Linked DNA regions of Homo sapiens: region 1 is linked to region 2. The links are contacts of gene promoters, found by promoter capture Hi-C in blood cells and fetal thymus (Javierre and others, 2016). All regions are on one chromosome and are shown on one strand. Each heading gives the region's core, a stretch centred on a gene start or on the middle of the fragment in contact. The rest is flanking DNA. Distances are from core to core; before and after follow the strand shown. Region 1 holds the start of DCUN1D5 (defective in cullin neddylation 1 domain containing 5). Region 2 holds the start of TMEM123 (transmembrane protein 123).

Region 1 (6,006 bases), core at 2,284-4,783, 640 kb before region 2:
AAAGGTAGGGAGAAGGGGGAGTGGGTGGCTGATCACAGGCCCATAAAAAAAACACGCAAGACACAGGGTGACAATGCATTTACGGGGTGGGAACACTTCAGGTGAGGTTATCGTGTGGAAGAGCTCAGAAGTGGAACTTGGTCTACTTTACCAGGTTGTTTTTAACGTCAACTGCAAAGTATTAGTAGTTTCACTTTTTGGCGGTGACTGCCAGCATCAGAGCGCGGTAGAAGCTTCATGAGAAAGGTCAGGATACCCTGGACAGGATACAAGAATTCCGCGGACTGCCGCAGTCGACGGGTCAGACAGCTTCGCTCTGCCTGGCCTACCTACGAGTGGCAGAGGCTAACCGGAACCACGCCCCTTCCCGGGACCGGCTCCGCGATTGCGTCACTTCCGGGCCTCAGCGATTCGCCTCCGGGTTAGGCTGAGCCTCTTGCTTGCTGTGACTGGTGGAGCTGCCGCGCTGTCCGCGTTATCTCCTCCCGGTGAGAACGAACCGCAGTGTCCACCGGCGAGGAGCCAGCCCTGTCCCGGTCAGAGAAAGACGACGAGGATACCTGGGAGCGGGCGGCGGCCGGGCTGGGCCGCGCCGGTGCGGGCTGGCGACTCTGCTCCTCCGCTTGCTGCTGTCTCTGGGAACTGGGTGCCAGCGCTGAGGGGCTTCCAGCGGACAGGGACCCCCTTCCCCGGCTCCCCTGCCCACCCTGCCGGGGAGGGCGGAAGATGCCGGTGAAGAAGAAGAGAAAATCCCCTGGGGTGGCAGCAGCAGTAGCGGAAGACGGAGGCCTCAAAAAGTGTAAAATCTCCAGGTACCATCTCCCCCCACCCTTCAAGCTTCCCTCCTCCCTCCTTTGCTGGACAACTGGAGGAAAAGGAGTCGGGCCCGGCCTGCCGGGCTGGGGCTGGAGACAGGTGAGGCCCCTTTGATCGAGCTAGGCTGTAGGTGCCGAACACCGCGAGTCTCCGCGCCCGACCCGACCTCGTGTTCGAGTGTGTGCACGCTGGCGTTTATGGAGAGACTAGAAGAGCCGCCCACGTTAAGAGTCTACGTGCCCTGCAGGGTGGGGAACAGATGCATATGTAAATTGCGCTTCCCCCCACCCCCACCCCCACCCCACAACCGACCCTCGATCCCCTACTCCCGTATCGCTCCTCTGCCTTTTTCTAGACTTAGAAGTGAGTACATATCCGCAGAAGGGTCACTTCTAGAATTTCTTTGTAGAGTGTGAAGAAAGCAGAACATAAGGAATCTTGACAACTGTCTTGGGAATGGTAGAAAGGAAAACTTGTATGCTATAATTGGCCTCCATATTTAGTATTTGGAGTGGCCTAACCCGGAAGGTCCCAGCAGGAGGCCTTTTAAATTGCAGGAGCCCCATTTTCTGGAAGTATAGTGCCTCACCTATGCCAAGTCCCTGTGTGCAGAGTTGGAAAGGCCCTGCATGCTTTTTGTCTTCTAGCATTCAGGACGCTGTTAGCTCTCAGCATAAATTAAATAATTTGTGAGCTCTTGTACTCTGTCCTACTGGTAAGAAAGAAGACAAGGCAGAACTATATAGTAGTAGCTCTTTGATCCCCTTGTAGCATATCATGGAGGCATCACAGCAAAATTTATGCTACAAAAAAACTGCAATTTTGGTTTGAGAAATGGTTTTTTTGTTTTTTTGTTTTGTTTTGTTTTTCTGAGACGGAGTCTTCCACTGTTGTCCAGGCTGGAGTGCAGTGGCGCGATCTCCGCTTACTGCAACCTCCGCCTCCCGGGTTCAAGCGATTCTCCTGCCTCAGCCTCCTGAGTAGCTGGGATTATAGGCGCCCGCCACCACGCCCTGCTAATTTTTTGTATTTTTAGTAGAGACGGGGTTTCACTATGTTGACTAGGCTGGTCTTGAACTCCTGACCTCGCGATCCGCCCGCCTCGGCCTCCCAAAGTGCTGGGATTACAGGAGTGAGCCACCTCGCCCGACTGAGAAATGCTTTTTTAAAAAATAACCATATTAGCTGCCTTTTCATCAATGGTTGGCACTTGATATGACAACTTCAGATGCTACTATTGAAAGGAGACTGTAGCCAGGATTATAAGAAGGAAATAATGATAGAGCTCTCCTTAAAGAGAGATCTGCTTAAACTGTGAGGTAGATGACTTACATAGTCTGCATCTTCTTTTTTGTAATTGGTCGACTTTTTTCCCTCATTACTGTGTTTTGGTAAAGGAGTCTATGGAGTATTAGGCTATTAATGTGAACGATGATACATACACCTCTTGTTTGTCAACATTAGAATTTGACATGGTTACTTTAGTAGCTCACATTTTTATAAGATACAGGCAAATTATTATTCATTTTTGTACTATATCATGGCCATCTTAAGTATATAATGTATTAAAATTATTTAAGTTAAGTACATTAAGATAGCTGAGCAGGCAGTATTATTAGAACTCAGGTGATACTTTGCTCTATCAATTTAAATTTTTAAATATGATACTCTTACTTTACTCAGTTACAGAAGTTCTATCATTTCTATATCATTGTGGTAGGGTAATTATTTGAGTTCCTTGAAAAAAGTTTCTCTGAAGGCCATTAAATTCTAGAGGCCATTTTGAACTTACCAAATTTTAGTTATTTTATGAAAAACAATGAAAATGATTTTATGAAAAAAATGAAATAGAATGAACAGAACCTAGGATTAAATAGCCTTGTCCCAATTATTTGGACTATTATTAACTTTTAGTGTTTTTTTGTTGTTTTTTTTAAATCTGTGTAATTTAATATACCCTTAGGTCCTAAGTCATCATTTATCTTTAAAAATCTATTTAAGCTTAGGTGATAAAACAACTCTTAATATAACATTTTATTTTGAAATATTGATTCATTAAGTATCAAAATATACTTTGTAAGAGTTTGTTTTCAAATATTTATCTATTACACACAAATAGAATTTCTATGCAAATCAATAGAATCATAATAAATATTTATACTTTCCCACCTACTAGGTTGAACTTCTTTGTAGTCTTTTAAAATGTGCGGAAATAACTTACTGATATTTTTGGATTTTGATACTGAGTGAAAAGGTATTTGGGTTTTGTTAGCCGATAATTCTTATGTATAGACTACTGTTTCAAGTTGCAATTACTTAACAACTTCAGTTTTTTTCCAACAATGCCAACCGAAGAAAAAAAAAACCTTTGTTTAATGTGAATGGAAGTTGTTAATTTTGAACTTAGTTTTTCTCTAAGAGTTGAGATGTGATAAAAATCTTAGGCGTCTGTGTGTTTTCTAAGCTATTGCAGATCCCAACCCCCTGCTAGACTAATAAGTGGAGAGGAACATTTTTCAAGCAAGAAGTGCCTGGCTTGGTTTTATGAATATGCAGGTAATGAAATTAATATAAGAAGATACTAGTCATATGCTTTAAAAAGTTTATTTGCCTTATTCATTTAACAAATTATCTGTTACAGGCCTGCTATGTGTTAGTGCTGTGTACTGGGATGAGGGTCAGGACTGAAGATTGTGGGTAGACTAAAAATTTGTTGCCAATTTAGGCTGATATTTCTTTAAATATATATTCGGTATATATTTACTGGGAGGGAAGAACTCATTTACTATTAATAAAACGTGTAAACAAAGATTCATTTATTTACATCTATTGGCTAAAGTAGTATTCTGGAAAATAAAAGGTACACAATAAAACATTTTTGTATTTGATATTGTGGAAAACACAAAGTACATAATAAAACATTTCTATTCAATATTCTCTTTTTGAAATTTTTCTGAACTAACATTTTCTGAAACTTTTGGGGAGACATAGTAAAAGATTTAAACCCCTCAGTTATAATTGTACAACACATTTACTTTTTAACAATTATCATTTAGCCATCCACTTCTACTAGAGATGCAATAGTAAGAAAATAAATAGACTGATATTAATACAGTGTGATAAATACTATATTCAGAAGATACACTGTGAGAGTTCATAGGAGGGATATATAACCCAGCTTTTAAAGTGTCATGGGAGTTTTCTAGAGGAGCTAACTTAACCTCAGCTAAATCTTGTAACTGGTGGATGAAGAGCCCTAGGCCCAGGATGGGGTTGTGTTTTAGAGGCGAAAGTCAAAGCCAGCCAGAGATGGGGCTGAAGAGTTAAGCAAATATATGCAAAAGAACACTTATACTATCTCATAAATATATATGGAATTTTTTTCCCCTTAGAATAGTTTTGTTTTTTTGGAGTTATTGATTTTAAAGCTTTTTTCTTTTCCTTTTCCTTTTTTTTAACCTGCTTCACTTTTTTTTCTCCTTCTTTTAATCACTATCATTCTCAAAATGTTTGTTTAAAATGGAAGTGTATATGTAGCTATTGCCTTATATTTAGTGCTCATCCACATTAAGGTCTAAAGTAGTATACTTTGAACTTGAGGTATAAGTTTAGGCTAATTGTATGGAATGTGAGACTATTTTGAAAGGGGGGCAGTAACTTTACTGTTGGAATCAGCTGAGTGATCCCAAAGTACAATTTTAAAATTGTTTAGTAACAGAACAGATTCTTTCTAGACCAGAAATAAATGCTATTACTGGCATCCCAAGACAACCACTAACCCAATTTAAATGAAGGGAATTCATTTCTTACTGACCTCCATTTAAAATGTTGACCCATTATCCCAAATGCCAGTTTTACTGGTATGAATGATATATAATCAAAAGGTCACCCATCTTATTTCACTTATAAAGGTTACTAGATACAATAGAAATAGAAAATATTTGCCTCAACTAGGAACTTTCCTAGGTAGTGTAAGATTCTAATTAAACATTTGTTTACTATATTAGCATTTTTAATAGCCAACATAATAATTGCATTATTCCAGGAATTGTCCCAGGTATATTATTTTTTCTTGTGACTGTTCTATTAAGTAGGTAGTATTATCACCACCTCCCACTACGACTTTATTTTTTGAGACAGGGTCTCACTGTGTCGCCCACGCTGGAGCGCAGTGCTGTGATCATGGCTCACTGCAGCCTTGAGCTCCTGGGCTCAGGCCATCCTCCCACCTCAGCCTTTCTAGTAGGTGGGAATATAGGCATGTGCCACCACGCCTGGCTAATTTTTTAAATTTTTTGTAGAAATGGGGTTTCAGCCGGGTGTGGTGGCTCACGTCTGTAATCTCAGCACTTTGGGAGGCCAAGGTAGGCAGATCACGAGGTCAGGAGATCGAGACCATCCTGGTTAACATGGTGAAACACTCTCTCTACCAAAAACACAAACAATTAGCCGGGCGTGGTGGTGTGCGCCTGTAGTCCCAGCTACTTGGGAGGCTGGGGCAGGAGAATGGCGTGAACCCAGGAGGCGGAGCTCACAGTGAGCCGAGATAACACCACTGCACTCCAGCCTGGGTGACAGAGTGAGACTCTGCCTCAAAAAAAAAAAAAAAGAAAAAGAAAAAAAGAAATGGGGTTTCACGATGTTGCCCAAACTGGTCTCCAACTCCTGGGCTCAAGTGATCTAATTGCCTCAGCTTCCCAGAGTGGTGGGATTACAGGCATGAGCTGCTGTGCTTGGCCATACCCTCATTTTATAGATGAGAAAACTGAGACTTAGATTAATTAATTTGCCCAAGATCATATAGTGACAAGAGCCAGGATTCAAACCCAGGTCCTTCTGATTCTAAAGTCCATGCTTTTAACTACTATGCTTTTATGTATTTTTTATTTAAATTTTATAATGTTTATATATAGTTATAAACATTTTATTATAATAGATATTATTTTATGTTTATTTTTTATTTAAGCTAATTTTCACTTTTGCAAAGAAAATATTGGTACTCTTGGTTAATTTCTGTCATCCATTCAATAAATATTGAGCACTTGTTTTGAGTCAGGCACTGTGCTGAGTGCTGGATATATAGTGCTGAGCAAGTCAGACAAGATCCCTGCCTTTGGGGGACTTGCCTTCTGGTGAGGAAGACAGTCAGTAAACAGGTATGTAGGCAAGATAAGTACAGATTGTGGGGAG
Region 2 (5,974 bases), core at 932-3,431:
TGCTATAACACAAATACCTTAAATGGGATACTTTATCAACAAATTTATAAACAATAGAAATCTATTTGTCCCAGTTCTGGAGGCTGGGAAGTTGACAGAGCAAGGCCTCAACAGATTTGGTGTCTGGTGAGGGCCCTCTGCCTCACAGATGGCGTCTTCCTGCTGTGCCCTCACAGTACAGAAGGGTGAAACAAGTTCCCTCAGGCCTCCTTTACAAGGGCACTAATCCCATTCATTAGCAACCAAATCACCTCCGGAAAGCCTCACATCTTTTTTTTTTTCTCTTGAGACAAGTCTCACTCTGTCTCCCAGGCTGGAGTGCAGTGGCGTGATCTCGGCTCACTGTAACCTCCACCTCCCAGGTTCAAGCGATTCCTGTGCCTCAGCCTCCCAGCTACTCGGGAGCCTCCCGAGTAGCTGGGATTATAGGCACGTCCCACCACGCCCAGATAATTGTATTTTTAGTAGAGGCGGGGTTTCACCATGTTGGTCAGGCTGGTCTTCAACTCCTGACCTCAAACGATCTACCCTTCTCAGCCTCCCAAAGTGCTGGGATTACAGGCATGAGCCACTATGCCCACCCAAGTCCCACATCTTATTATCATCACCTTGAGGATTAGGTTTCAACACATGAATGTGGTGGGGATATAAACATCCAGACCTCTTATTCCACCCCAGATTCCCAGGCTATAAGTACACTGAGCCTTAAAGGAAGTATTAGCTGTGGGTTGGTGAAGAGAATTCCAGAAGGAAAGAACAACGTATGCAAATGCCAGGAACCAGAAAGCACCCTTCTCCATGGGCAACAGAACCAAGGCTGGAAAGACAGGTTGGGCCTAGATTGGGAAATGCTTGGATAATGGGGTAGTCACCAGAACGGTTTATTCCTAAACCAGATTCCCCAGTTAAATAGAATAACCAAAATCGAAATGTGCAATGCTTGCTTTTTGTCCATGATAAGCTGCAGGGGAAACATTTGCAGGTTGGCTGACTGAATCCACAGATGGAAGTCTCTGTAAATTTAGGACAGATTGTCTCAGTTAATCTCTAGGACCAGTCAGACCTCTGTAATGATGGATTTGCCTGACATGAGAAAGTTCTACCTCTCATAACACAGTTTTCAAAAGTTAACTGCAATGTGGCCTTTATGTGATGAAATCTGGCTCAGGTGCCAAAGATCTGCAACATTAAGACCTTTGCAGGTGGGGATTCACTGTGATTTTAGGTTCCTTGGATCCTTCAGTCTTCTACTTCAGCTGAGGGTTCCCACCCAAGCCAGGACTCAGCCTTTGTTATTCTCATGCATTAGCCACAGGTAGCTATGTCACTTCAGAGTTCTGAGCACGATGAAAATGCAGACTTTACAAGCACTTCAAGTCAAGACAAGTGATTAGCATTGGCTCCAAGGGTTTAAAAGGAACTCAGCCAAAAACTGTTCAAAACTGGCCATTTCATCTGAACTGGGACAGCAGGGCACAAGGAGAGAAAAGGCTGGTTGGATTAATGCAGCCCCCGCTTTCCATGGCTCTACTGTATTTCACTGAGAGTTGCTACCAACTCCTGCGCGCGCCCCCACCCGCCCACTCCACTAATCTCGTGTCTTAATCAGAGATACAGGGAACCCGTGGAGAAGATGAAGTACAACTGGGATAAGAAGATCGTAGGTGTTTTACGTTTGAATTTAAGCAACAAATCTGTCGAGCTGTTTTTCTCCACTTCCCCCTTAGGCTGGGTCACGCGAGGGGAAAGCTCCGACCGCCCAGGACTCCTTAGAGTGAATCCCATCCCCTCAAGTTCCTCTCCAGAATCTCCCCCTCCTCCCGCCTTTGCCCTGCAACTCCTCCCTCTCACTCTGAGTCGCACGCACCCCTGTCCCCTCCCTGCCCGCAAAACTACTCTTCAAAGGCTTCCTTCCGGGCACCGCGAAGCCAGCGTGCTCAGCATTCAGGGAGGCAGCGGCGCTCGCCTTCATCCAGGACAACAAAACTGCCATTTCCGAAGAGAAAGGAAACGGCTCGCGGTTTCTGGGGTTCCCAAGCGCGCGCCTGCGAGGGAGGCCGCGAGCCGAGTCGCCACGCCCAGAACCCCGAGCCCGCCCCCGCGCCACCCAGCCCGGCCCCGCCGCCCCGGCTGCGCACGCGACGCCCCCTCCAGGCCCCGCTCCTGCGCCCTATTTGGTCATTCGGGGGGCAAGCGGCGGGAGGGGAAACGTGCGCGGCCGAAGGGGAAGCGGAGCCGGCGCCGGCTGCGCAGAGGAGCCGCTCTCGCCGCCGCCACCTCGGCTGGGAGCCCACGAGGCTGCCGCATCCTGCCCTCGGAACAATGGGACTCGGCGCGCGAGGTGCTTGGGCCGCGCTGCTCCTGGGGACGCTGCAGGTGCTAGCGCTGCTGGGGGCCGCCCATGAAAGCGCAGCCATGGCGGGTAAGTGGCTGCGGGGGTCGTCAGCCCCGTTCGTGGGAGGCAGCGCGCTGCCGAGGCTTGGGTTCCCAAGTTGGGCTCTGGTACAGAAAGTTCCGCGTGTGTCTGGCCGAACGCTCGGGGCGGACCCAGAGGTGACCGGGCGGGGTGGGGGAAACTGAGGTTTGGACCAGTCACCCGCTGGCCCCGGGGCCGCCTGCTGAGGAAATTGCCTGGTGCTTCCCCTCTCGCTTTTTGGATGCGGCGGTCGCAGGCCGGGACGGGTGCGCATAACCTGTTGAGTTACCGCAAGTTGGTTTTTACAGCCTTTCCCTGAAGTTAATGTTTGCCGAGGTTAGAGTTTCTAAGGCTTCCGTTTGTAAACAAGATTAGCTGAGTTGAAAAATATGTCTACCTAGGCCCGCGGAAACGTCTCCCAGTTAGTCGGGGAGCTTTTCAAGCGTCCCCCAGGCATTTCAGCGTCTAATATTATGCAGTATTATCCAGATGAATTACAATCTTTAGGTCCCCCTGACGCTCGAAGTTAGACTTCGGGGCTCTTGGAGCTAGTTGGGAGCTTTTGGGGAGCGCGCCCCGCCCTCGCGGTAGTTGAGGCGGCCGCCCCCATGGCGGGGCGCTCTCCACCCCTCGTGTGCCATAAACACCCGGCCGAGGCGCGCGGCAGCTGCGCAGCGTTAAGGGCACAGCTGCACGGTCGCCGGTGGCCCTTGTCGTCGCTAGTAAGGTCGTAACAGGATGATGTTGACTTTGCTTTTCTGTGTAGGGCGGAATTTGTTTCGTTTTAGGCCCTTGGCCCTTTGGAGACTTCAAACAGCCCTTTTTGGATGAAACCAGGAAGTTGGGATTTGTTGTGTAAATACTGTTTTCCTTTGTCAACTGTTAGAGAAGTCAGGTCCCTAGGTAATGGTCAGTAAACTAGGATAAGTTAAGTAACCCAAGGTTTTCATGGTTTTAAGTTCTATCCATCCACTGTATATGTTAGCCTTAGGTTCGTTTTATCCAGCAAAAGAAAAAGGCAGTTTGTAAATCTGGAAGGTTCAGGCACAACACTTGCTTTTTCTGGAATAACCTGGGTGAATTAACAATTTTTCTTTGTTTTGCTGAAGTTTTTTTGTTTGCTTAATTGTGCGTGTGACAAACTGGCTTCGCAGACCTAATTTTGAGATCATTTAAGAAAAAAAGTGGTAAAATCATGTCCATCGTGTATCTTGGTCCTAATTTTATACCAATTATCTCATGAGGTGAGGTCTCCATTTTTAAAAATTTGTTGCTGTGTTTGTGAAGATAAGCCTTACTGTTTCAATGAATTACCGATTAGAGAAACTGTGAGTGACCATGCTTTTCTTTCTTTTGCCCTGATAACACAGATTTTTTTTGCCCTATTTTAGCACTGTTTGTTCTGTTTATTACTTAATGTCTTACTAGAGGTTAGTCCCATTTGCAAAACTTGAAATGCTCTACAGTAGGCGAGCCCTGAATTCATAAACTAGTATAACCAACCAGAGGTGGAATCTGTTTCTACAGACTATATAATGTCACCTTGCAACTAGACTAAAAGGTATACAATAGAAGATTTCTCAAAAAAGCTAGTAACTGTTAATCGTAGTCTTCATGTATAGTGTAATCTGTATACAATGTCATTACGAAGTATAGTGATTTTTAGCCATCATACTAAAACTCTTAATGGCTGATTTTTACTGGGTACATATTCTGTGCATCCCACGCTATGCTAATTTAGGTCCATAAATCATCCCATTGAATCCTCACAGTATCGTCCCCATTTTATAGATAAGTAAGCTAATTTATGGCAAGTAAAACAATTAATACATGTTTGGTTTCAGATCAAAATCCAAATTTTCAATTAACCATTTCACCACTAAGCCGCGTTAGATGATGATGGCTCTTGAAGTAGATAATACTTTTATTCCACAGTATTACCATTGCCTAGAATATTGTGGGAGAAGATAAAAACATTATTGAAATTCTGCTTTTAAAATATTCTTCACAGTCAGCTGCATAGCTTTATAAATATCAGTTGAAGGAGGAGGGAGACTATGAGCAAGTTTGCAAATCAGCAAACAGGATTTATTGTAGTATTCCAATGAATGACATTAACATTAACAGGATGGGAGGGGCGGCTGTTAGTCATTACTCTTAGTGGCAAGTGACAGAAACCCACCTTGAACAACTGTGGAAAGAAGGGACTTTTTTGACTTGTAACTGAAAAGTGCAAGGATTGAGGTGGCTTGAAAATGGCTGTATTCAAGTGTTCAAATAAGTCGCCAAGAAATTAAGAAATCATCGCGTTAAGAGCGACAATAGCAGGGAAACAAAAACAGGCTGTTGTGTTAGCCCAGCCAAAAGATGATGGTGAGTGGCAATGGAGATAAAAGGGTGGATTCTAGATCTATGGGGGGTTGGGACTAATCACTTGCTGATGGATTGGAGGGTGGGATGAGGAAGAGAGAAGAATCAAAGGATGACCTCTTGGTTTTGGGGTTGAGCAGCTGGTAATGCAACAATTGGGAAGGTTGGGGGAGGAGCAGGTTTATAGTAGAAAATCAGTAGTTCCATTTTGGCACTCATATCTGCAGGCTTAGGAATCAAACTATCTGGTCCAATTCCAGTCTCTGCCACTTTGTATCTGGGCGGCCTTCTCTGGGCCTCAGTTCTTGTCTGCAAAACAATACTCCTAAGAATTGTTGAGAGGGTTAGATGAGCTAATGCACATAACCCTGGCTTGTGGTAAGCACCTAATAATGTTGGCAATTGTTTGCTATCTGCTGCTAAATACATCTACGTAGTCTGTTGACCTTGATCTTTTTCAAGTTAATCTTACACTGTATCCTTTTGTGATAAATAGATGATAGTCCCATCAAGAAGAAGAAATTCTCACAAAGAAGAAATTTGCCCAAGAAGTAAAGATAAATCCTTCAAAGTTACTGCTTTTCTTTGTACTTGGAGGATTTTTTTTTAAGTGGGGGAGAGTTCATCTTTGTGAAAAGGACACAATAATACACTTGCTCTCTCCCTATGTGTTATACATATTTAATCTTCATTAGACAAAGACTCAAAACGAATAAAGCACTCTGAAAAGTTGCTTAATTGGGACATAGAAATCTCTTACATTTTTTCCAAATCTAAAGGTGTACTAATTTAAAAATTAAAACCCTACTGAGAAGGTGCAGTTAAATAAGAAAATCCTATTTTATCCCTCCATTGTATGAAATTAGGGGTGTTGGTTGGGTGGTGCAAGACCTAGAGATGCCTGTGAGTAGAATCGGCCTCTCCTGAAATGGTCCACTCCACTCAGAAGAGCAGAGTCCTCAGTGGCAGAAATTGGCCCATCTGTCCCCAATTGTGTGGGTAAATGAATTTTGGCAAAGCTGTTGCATTCGGTGGCTGGTATATAGTAAGTACTATGTAAGTGTTTGTTATGTAAGCTAGATGTTTATCTTGAAAAACCTGGTAATACAGTCCCTTTTACTGACAGCTTCAAGATATGTTTCATAACAACAGGGGCCAAAGTAGAACTTCCTGTGGAATAATCTACCC

The links. Contacts are between HindIII fragments. The CHiCAGO score rates a contact against its expected background, and 5 or more counts as called.
Region 1: a fragment that was not itself captured here is called in contact with the fragment with the promoter of TMEM123 in region 2 in 1 of 17 cell types (activated CD4 T cells); the score reaches 5.9 in activated CD4 T cells.

The regions. Positions count from the first base shown.
Region 1 is chr11:103,086,593-103,092,598 of GRCh38, reverse strand. It overlaps DCUN1D5 (defective in cullin neddylation 1 domain containing 5), which reads left to right and starts at 439. Exons shown (of 8, transcript NM_032299.4): 1 at 439-812; 2 at 3,281-3,372. The coding sequence starts at 727. RefSeq lists enhancers at 1-34, 105-154, 84-701, 702-1,319 and a silencer at 845-1,139. The HindIII fragment of the contact is 1,427 bases long and covers 2,820-4,246 here.
Region 2 is chr11:102,448,972-102,454,945 of GRCh38, reverse strand. TMEM123 (transmembrane protein 123) reads left to right here and starts at 2,181. Exons shown (of 5, transcript NM_052932.3): 1 at 2,181-2,422. The coding sequence starts at 2,323. It overlaps TMEM123-DT (TMEM123 divergent transcript), which reads right to left and starts at 2,027. Exons shown (of 2, transcript NR_135053.1): 1 at 1,897-2,027. RefSeq lists enhancers at 1,818-1,927, 2,658-2,947, 3,128-3,177 and a silencer at 2,048-2,337. The HindIII fragment of the contact is 13,483 bases long and covers 1-5,974 here.